Linked DNA regions of Homo sapiens: region 1 is linked to region 2. The links are contacts of gene promoters, found by promoter capture Hi-C in blood cells and fetal thymus (Javierre and others, 2016). All regions are on one chromosome and are shown on one strand. The core of a region is centred on a gene start or on the middle of the fragment in contact, and the rest is flanking DNA. Distances in the headings are between cores, read along the strand shown. Region 1 overlaps CLIP1 (CAP-Gly domain containing linker protein 1). Region 2 holds the start of DENR (density regulated re-initiation and release factor).

Region 1 (4,634 bases), core at 1,416-3,915, 350 kb before region 2:
CTTGCCATCCTAATAAACTATTGAGTTCACCAGCCCCAATATTTACCCTGTTTACTAAGGAGAAGTGGAGATTAAGATGTCTAAGTCATTTTGAAAATGCCAGAAGAATAAAGCCTCGGGACAGCTCCGGAATAGCCCTGTGTATCTTTGTGAGGAAAAGGCAAAATGGCCAGGCTGTTGTTTCCTCCCTCTTAAGAGTTTTGAAGTTTGCAAGCCAGCACAGAGTAAGAATTAGTGACATTTTATTATTTCTAAGTGCTTAAAAATTCTGAAATTGAAGGGAACTGTAACAGGGACTCAGAACAATTATCTCAATGGAATCACTGGTAATTTTTATCTGTGTTTTCTTGGGTCTATAGAAATTTTATTTAATGAACAGGTATAATTAATTTCACAGGCAGAAAAAAAATTCTTTTGAGCCACAGTAAAACGGCTTCAACCGAAAGAGTGAAGAAACAGACTCTACTGAGCTGCTTTCTCCACAGAAACAAGAGTGCAGTACAGCCAAGCCAGGATGGAAGTGAATACATATGGAGAGGGGGAGAGGGTGGCTAGCTGTTCACCAAGACTTTTTTGTTGTTGTTTATTTTTTTTTTTTTGAGGCAGAGTCTTGCCCTGTTGCCCAGGTTGAACTGCAGTGATGCACTCATGGCTCATGGCAGCCTTGACCTCCCAGACTCCAGCCATCCTTCCACCTCAGCCTCCCAAGTAGCTGGGACTACAGGCAGACACCACCACACCCGGCAAATTTTTTTTTTTTTTTTTTTTTTTTTTGTAGAGATGGGGTTTTACCATGTTGCCTAGGCTGGTCTTGAACTCCTGGGTGCAAGCGATCCACCAACCTTGGCCTCCCAAAGTGCTGGGATTACAGGCGTAAGCCACCGTGCCTGGCCTCTTTTTCTTCCTGGATTCACACCATATTTCCCAGCTCCCGCTACAGTTCAGTATGATCACGTGACTGAGTTCTAGCCAGTGGAATAAGTGTGTGAGGCATGTGCCACTCTAGGCCTAGCCCAGAGGAACCTACTGTGTACAATCCCCCATGCTCTTTGCCCTTCTGATGGCTTGATGGAGACAAGCCCAGCAACCTCGAAAGCATGTACTGAAGACAACAGAATCAAAAGATGGAAGAGTTCAGGCGTGTGGCTCATGCCTGTAATCCCAGCACTTTGGGAGACCAAAGTGGGTGGATCATCTGAGGTCAGGAGTTTGAGACCAGCCTGGGCAACATGGCAAAAACCTCTCTCTACAAAAAAATACAAAAATTAGCCGGGCATAGTGGTGCACGCCTGTAATCTCAGAGGTTGCAGTGAGCCAAGATCACACCACTGCCCTCCAGTCTGGGCGACAGAGCCAGACTCCATCTCCAAAAAAAAAAAAAAAAAAAAAAAAAAGGAAGAAAGAAGTCTAGACACCTGAATCACCTCTCCCCATTTTCCCATCAGTAAATATGTATCCTAAACTTTTCCAAAACTGAAAATCAACTTATCGGCCACGCATGGTGGCTCACACCTATAATCCCAGCACTTTGGGAGGCAGTCCGATCACAAGGTCAGGAGTTCGAGACCAGCCTGGCCAACATGGTGAAACCCCATCTTTACTAAAAAAAAAATATAAAAATTAGTCGAGAGTGGAGGCGCATGCCTGTAATCCCAGCTACTCAGTAGGCTGAGGCAGGATAATCGCTTGAAGCCAGGAGGCAGAGGTTGCAGTGAGCCAAGATTGTGCCACTGCACTCCAGCCTGGGCAACAGAGTGAGACGCCGTCTCAAAAAAAAACAAAAAAAAAAGAAAATTAACTTATCAGTTTCAGCCACTGAAATAAGTGGGCTTATATGGTATAGTGGCAAGCTTATTTTATGTAATACAGTGGCAAACAGATAAAAACTTTGCTTAGAGCTTTGAATCATCTTGGCCAAGTAAATTCCTCAAATAAATTAATTTTAAGGGACTGGGCTTGGTGGCTCATGCCTGTAATCGCAGCACTTCGGAAGGCCAAGGCAGCCGGATCACCAGAGGTCAGGAATTTGAGACCAGCCTGGCCAACATGGTGAAACCCTGTCTCTACTGAAAATACAAAAAAAAAAAAAAAAAATTAGCTGGTCGTGGTGGCAGGCGCCTGTAATACCAGCTACTTGGGAGGCTGAGGAGAATAGCTTGAACCCTGGAGGTGGAGGTTGCAGTGAGCCGAGATCACGCCACTGCACTCCAGCCTGGGCGACAGAATGAGACTCCACCTTAAAAAAAAAAAAAAAATTAATTTTAAGGACGAGCCTCTAAGATTGAAATGCTTTATATCACAAAAAGCATTATAATGTGAATAATTAAAGTACTATATTTTTATAAAAGCAGAGACATTTTACTCGTAAGAACAAAATATGTTTTTAAAACACACAAGTTTGCCCAGGCATGGTGGCTCACACCTATAATCCCAGCATTTTGGGAGGCCAAGGCAGGTGGATCACTTAAGTCCAGGAGTCTGAGAGCTGCCTGGGCAACATAGTGAAACCCCATCTCTAAAAAAAAAAAATTTTTTTTAATTAGCCGGGCATGGTGGCGCCTGCCTGGAATCCCAGCTACTTCGGAGACTGAGGTGGGAGGATCGCTTGAGCCCAGGAGATTGAGTCCAGCCTAGGCAATATTAGCAAGACTTTATCTCTAAAATCTTTTTTTAAAAAGTTTAAGAAAAAAAGACACTTATTATAGAAAATATATATTTTAATAAAATCTAATCCCCCTTCCTCCTGACCAGATATCCAAAAAAAAAAAAAAAAAACCTTAAGCAATTTACAGAAACAAGAGGTTCCACAAAACAAGCAGTTCCCAAAAACAAGAATGGTGAAAATTATGTTCATACAAAAAGCAGTAATATTCTTCATATTCTCATCTGATTTCTTAAGGTTATGTTTACTCCTATTTTTTAAATGTCATGGTTCAAATAAATAAAAAAGTATGAACAGAGAGCTGGACTAGGAAGTGAGACACCTAAATTCCACCCCAGTTGGATGACCCTGAACAACTCACATAACCCCTTCCCCGGCTCAGTATTCCCAACTTCAACCTGAGGACACTAATTAAATAAGATCTGTTTCTAACTCCATACCTTCACAGTTCTAGTCCTGTTTTGGGTATCAAATCCAAATCCTGTAAGCAAAAGGTCAAGGATTCAGAAGTGAAAGGAAAGACTGTGGCTCTAACTTTGCCAAAGTGAAAAGTACAGACCTCTGCCATCAGTGAAGAAAGAACCCAGATCTGATAAGAGCTTCAAACAGGCTCAGCACCTCCTGGCACACATAGAGCGGCATCACGTTGCCCCAAGAAAATCACATCTCTACACATCAGACCCTTTCCAGTCCATTTTGCCCCATCCACAAAATGAAAATGCCACTTTATTTACTAAATCTAAAAATTCTGTTGGGAGGCAAAGGAGAGTTGAAGAATTTGCAATGAATTTAACCTGCCAGGAGAGGGAGTTTAACACCAAGCTTCCAGAAACAGGCTGCGTGGTAGCTACAACGTCCAGAAACCCAGGTTTCAACGCGGCCCTGCTTCAAGACCCAAAGGAAATTCAGCACCAGGCGGGTGAAGTGACTTACCTGTGCACAGCTGCACTCGCAGACTTCGGAGCCCCCACCTAATTCTAAAATGCTGTATGTCCATGAACTTAATAACAGAAGGTCAGGGGAGAGACGTTCTGAGAGCAACGGAAATCTATCTTAAGATAAAGATGTTTCTGAGGCTGATTTTTCAAGTCAAACTTGAGAGAGAAATTCAAAGGCTATGTTCTCATATCATATTCCTGGGTTTGGGAGGTTCATTCACAGCTTAATCCTGTCCCCTGAAGTCACGGTTACGTAAGTATGCTGTGTCACTTGCTGTCCCCACCCCCAACACAGGAGATGCAGTGTAACCTGAGCTCCTCGGCTTGAGCCACTGAAAACACTTACACAACGCTGGGACCTTTCCAAATTGACTTGTTTCCCCTTAAGAAAGGGCAAGCTATTTGATTTTCTTCCTTCCACTTCATTCACATTCATATTTCTGTATATACAGAAGAGACTGAAAAAGATAAATAAGATTGAAGGGCATTTGCAAATTTTCTTCAATTCTTGAGTAAAACAAAAAAGTCAACTATCCAATGTCACGGAAAAGTAACCAAAAAAAAAAAAATTATGGGCCTGCTTAGCCCCAATTTAAAAACATCACATCTCCTGGCTGAACTGAGCTTAAGGTCCTTGGACGGGCTTCATTTCCCACGTACTGGCTGTTTCTAGAGCCAGGCCCCATACGCTACTGCCACGCGCAGCATACTGCCACACAGAAGGGCTTTGGGGGCACATGGGAAATGGCTCTCCAAGAACACAGGAGACACATCAGCAGTCTCTTCTGACTACTCTTCTTGCCCTCTCTTCCTTCTCTGGACTACTCCAGCTACTGGGCAGCTTCGATTACGGAATGATGACTCACACGCATTCCTGTCTTGTTTGCATATCATGCTATGACTAAGCTCCATGAGATTTGATTTGTCTTCGCATCCAACGAATCTAAAAAAGTTTGATACACAGTAAGAGTTCAAAAAAGTTCTCAAGTGAGTCAACAGCAAAACAAGAATCCATAAAATTATGCAAAATGATG
Region 2 (4,392 bases), core at 117-2,616:
CGAGGCCATATTTCAGACTATCACATGAGGAGAAACCTTGGACAATACCTGGCTTTCCTAGGAAGAGGTCCCTGCGGCCTTCTGCAGTGTATTGTGTCTCTGGGTACTTGAGATTAGGGAGTGGTGATGATTCTTAAGGCGCATGCTGCCTTCAAGCATTTGTTTAACAAAGCACATCCTGCACAGCCCTTAATCCATTTAACCCTCAGTTGACACAGCACAGGTCTCAGGAAGCACAGGGTTGGTGGTAGGGTTACAGATTAACAGCATCTCAAGGCAGAAGAATTTTTCTTAGCACAGAACAAAATGGAGTCTCTTATGTCTACTTCTTTCTACACAGACACAGTAACAATCTGATCTTTCTTTTCCCCATATATTCCCATACTCTTACATTTTTCTTTTTTTCATTAAAAAAAATTGTAGGCCGGGCGCGGTGGCTCACGCCTGTAATCCCAGCACTTTGGGAGGCGGAGGCGGGAGGATCCCTTGAGTCCGGGAGTTCGAGACCAGCCTGGACAGCATAGGGAGATTCCCCCACCTCTATAAACAAATTAAAAATTAGCTGGGTGTGGTAACGCGCGCCTGTATTCCCAACTACTTGGGAGGTCGAGGCTGCAGTGAACCGTGTTTGTGCAACTGCACTCCATCCAGCCTAGGTGACAGAGTGAGACCCTGTCAAAACATAAAGAAAAGGATGAAGGAAGGGAGGGAGGAAGGAAGGAAGGGAGGGAGGAAGGAAGGAAAGAAGGAAGGAAGGGAGGGAGGGAGGGAAGGGGAAGAAAGAGACAGAAAGAAGAGAAAGAAGAAAGAAAAGAAAGAACAGAAAAGAAAGAAAAAAGAATTCCTTTAATTTAGTGTATGGTGTTAAAACGCAACCAAACGCTCCATCCGGCGAAGAGAGAGAGAAAAGAAGAGAGGAAGGAAAGAAGGAAGGGAGGGAGGGAGGGAGGGAGAACACCTTCCTTTAATTCAGTGCATGGTGTTAAAATGCGACCAAACGCTCTATCCGGCTGCAATCTCCCCGCACGGGAGTGATTTATGCAGTAGCTGGAGGTTAGTCAGGACTCCAGGATGCACCGCAGACACCGAGGCGATGATCCTCGGACTCATTAATAGGGAGTCATTTGTGACTCAGGTGCGCTCTCTGCGTCTGCAAGTCACGTTCCCTTCGGCACGCCCATCTCGAGGATTCATCCTCTCCAACGGGTGACGAGCACCGCCTGCCGGCGGCCCGCCTCTCGGCCTCTTGGCCACGCCCCCCACCGGAGGGCAAGGCGCACGCTCCGCAATTTTTCTCCGCCCCCGTCTTCCGGCTTCTCGCGACATCCGCCCAGCGGCGGCCGGAATCTCGCGATAAAGGCTCATTGTCTCGCGGGAGCGCTGCTGGCGGTCGGGCGCTCGGGCGGCCCTGGCCGGGGAGACGAGTTGCATGTGTTGGTTCAGCTGGCGATAGCGGCGGGAGCGGAGCCGGCGGGGCCTGTGCGACCGCCTGGGTAACGACCCCAAGTGCTTCTCCCGCTCCCGAGAAGCTCGTAGAGAGTGTGGGGGAAGCTGAGATGCTGCCTGGCGGAAGGGGGCCGGGCCGGGCCTCTCCACACCCCCGCCCACAAGGGCCCCTTCTGGCGTCCCCGGGGTTGCTCCTTCGCCTCAGACCTGGTCGCCCTTGTCCCCTCAGTGCTCTTACATTCTGCGCTCGTTTTCTCTCCTCATCCTTCTTACGCTCTGGTTACCCCGCCCCCTCCCATGCCCTTTTTAGACTCCCCAGGCCCCTCTCATGGCGTTTAGTTGCCCCCACACCCTGCACCCCGGGCTTCTCCGATGACCCACCCCTTGTTCCTAGGCACTTCCAGCCTCTCTCCATTCGGCGCCTTTGTAGCCCTTCTCTCACTGCAGTTTGCATCCCTCCCAGATCACCCTCAGACCTTTTTGCTCCGTGTCTGCCGTGGGTACTCACCCCATCTTTCCTTCCCCATTGCTTCCTGTTTTTCTCTAGTGAGTCCCTCTGCCCCATCCTTCATGGTCCATTTGCTGCTTGCTTCCCTGTAGACCTGTGGAGCAAGGAGATGTTGTGCCTGGGATTGCTCATATTTTATGAATCGAATGCAGCTTGTATCCCCCACTCAACAACAGACTTGAAACAGCTTTGGGGTGGGGAGGTTTCTGTTGAGAGGAACACTGCTCTTCTGGGGTCTTGATTCTAAAATAGTGAGGGTGTGTTATTTTCCTTGCTTACAGGTTTGTGAAATGGCTGCTGACATTTCTGAATCCAGCGGGGCTGACTGCAAAGGAGACCCAAGGAACAGTGCCAAGTTAGATGCCGATTACCCACTTCGAGTCCTTTATTGTGGAGGCAAGTGTTGGTAGCCACAGAATGACTTTTACTCACTATACTTTTATGCATTGTAATAACAGTTTGACATTTGGTAAGCTTTCTTCCCCATCCTTTTCATTTGGTGAGTTTGTACTGGGGGAGAGGAGTCCTGGGGAGGAGGAGGCATGAATTAACAGAGTTTCCCCACCTGGGTGATTTGTGTCTGGCTACTCTGCCTGAAGAAGCTTACAGTCCATTTGTAACAGGATGTGCAACTAGGTTATTTCAGCCTGAAGGTCCTCAAGGTGTATGCTAGTCTAGCTGTCAAAGGAGGGCTTCTTGGAAGATTATGAGTTAAGGATGGCAAGGACTGGATGAGAAGGTGGGGAACGGCGTCCCAGACAAAGCGCACGACTATGTAAGAAAAAGCTTGATGGCTGTCTGTGAAGAAGTGAGCAGCTTTGAGTTTGTCTGGTGTATCGTATAGGGAGGGTGGCCCGTTAAGGAGTGGGAGAAGGTGAGGTTGGAGTGTTGGGTGGTAGGACAGTGAGGAAAGTCTTCTTGGTTTGAATCATGATATATGTATTAGGTTTAATCAAGATCTTTTTCACTTTCGAGTGTTTTTCTTCATTTTCAATATAGAAATATTTGTGAATTGTAAATGCTGTATGTATTCGCATCTTGGAAACTTTCAGAAAAATCTGAAGATACAGGACAGTAAAAGGGCAAGTAAATATTTTTTCAGTAAATATTTCTCAGAACTTACTGTGTGCCTAGTGATGTTTTAGGTGCTGGGGCCTGAGTAGTGAATAAGTCAGAAGATCCTTGTTCACGTGGACCTTACATTCTGTGACTGCAGTAGAGACCACATCTGACATTTAAGTACCGTAGAAGGAGAAATGATATCTTTTTGCCATTAAAAGTAATGGCAAAAACTGCAGTTACTTTTGCACCAACCTAATCATTTTTTGAGCAGGAAAATAAAGTGACAAGAGATTAATATGCTGCATTATTTGGAGGAAATAGAACCCACAAATTTGAAGGCCACTTTCAGAAATCTAGGTTTGAGGTAAATAAGTGCCTTGCTGAGAGTGTAAGCAGTATAAAAGTGAATAAAGAGGGTTAATCAAAGAAAAGATACAATGTTTAATGGTGAAAAAGGAAAAAGATATTTCACAATTGAGAGAGTTGAAAAACCAGAACACCACTAAAAATGATGACTTTGAGAAAGATTAGATTTGGAGATAGATAATAGGCTGACTTGCAATACAGTGAATTTGAGTTTCTCCAAATGGAAGAATCCAAGTATGCTGCATTTGGCAGCAGAGAGAGACAGTATATGAGCTTTTCTAAGGGAGAAAGAGAGAAAAGCCAGAAAGATTCTTGGGGTGTACCTGGAACGAGGTGAACTGGGTAGATTTCACCACATAGAGAATTGCTTAGTTGGTGAGAAGTTTGGAAGCTTAGTGAAAATGTCAGTCTCTAGAAATCTTGTTTTATTTTTCTGTAATTATGAATTAAAACTAAGGGGCCGGGCGCAGTGGCTCACACTTGTAATCCCAGCACTTTGGGAGGCTGAGGCAGGCAGATCATGAGGTCAGGAGTTCAAGACCAGCCTGGCCAACATAGTGAAACCCCGTCTCTACTAAAAATACAAAAACTTAGCCAGGCCTGGTGGCAGGCACCTGTAATCCCAGCTACTTGGGAGGCTGAGGCAGGAGAATCACTTGAACCCGGGAGGCAGAGGTTGCAGTGAGCCGAGATCACGCCATTGCACTCCCACCCGGGCAACAGTGCGAGACCCCATCTCAAAAATAAAAAACAAAACTAAGGATGTGAGAAAAACTGATACATTTATTTTAACAAGATGCTCAGAATATAGATTCCTATTATATTTTTATATAATGATTACCTGTGAAACAACTCTTTAAATTTGGAAACCTATGTGAGTAAAGGATAAGATCTATTCCCTGTGACCTCAGAGGGTCAGTGAACTAGGACTAAAGTGGAAACTACTGAAAGGTGCCTTTCTACCTTGTCAACACTCTCCAGAACAGTACAGGCTTCCACTTAATGTAAAA

Evidence for each region. The method cuts DNA at HindIII sites, captures the fragments that hold promoters and counts their contacts. A CHiCAGO score of 5 or more calls a contact.
Region 1: a contact is called between a fragment that was not itself captured here and the fragment with the promoter of DENR in region 2, in 1 of 17 cell types (total B cells). The highest score is 5.6, in total B cells.

The regions. Positions count from the first base shown.
Region 1 is chr12:122,396,186-122,400,819 of GRCh38, forward strand. The region is part of intron 1 of CLIP1 (CAP-Gly domain containing linker protein 1); the gene reads right to left. CLIP1-AS1 (CLIP1 antisense RNA 1) reads left to right here. Exons shown (of 3, transcript NR_045382.1): 2 at 398-520; 3 at 3,111-3,759. Among named protein-coding and RNA genes, the nearest start is that of CLIP1-AS1, 3.0 kb to the left of the region's middle. RefSeq lists enhancers at 3,774-3,833, 4,302-4,351, 4,372-4,431, 4,389-4,634, 4,452-4,501. The HindIII fragment of the contact is 1,634 bases long and covers 1,849-3,482 here.
Region 2 is chr12:122,751,458-122,755,849 of GRCh38, forward strand. It overlaps DENR (density regulated re-initiation and release factor), which reads left to right and starts at 1,367. Exons shown (of 8, transcript NM_003677.5): 1 at 1,367-1,493; 2 at 2,236-2,350. The coding sequence starts at 2,245. RefSeq lists enhancers at 1-724, 1,816-1,875 and a silencer at 1,626-1,675. The HindIII fragment of the contact is 18,243 bases long and covers 1-2,426 here.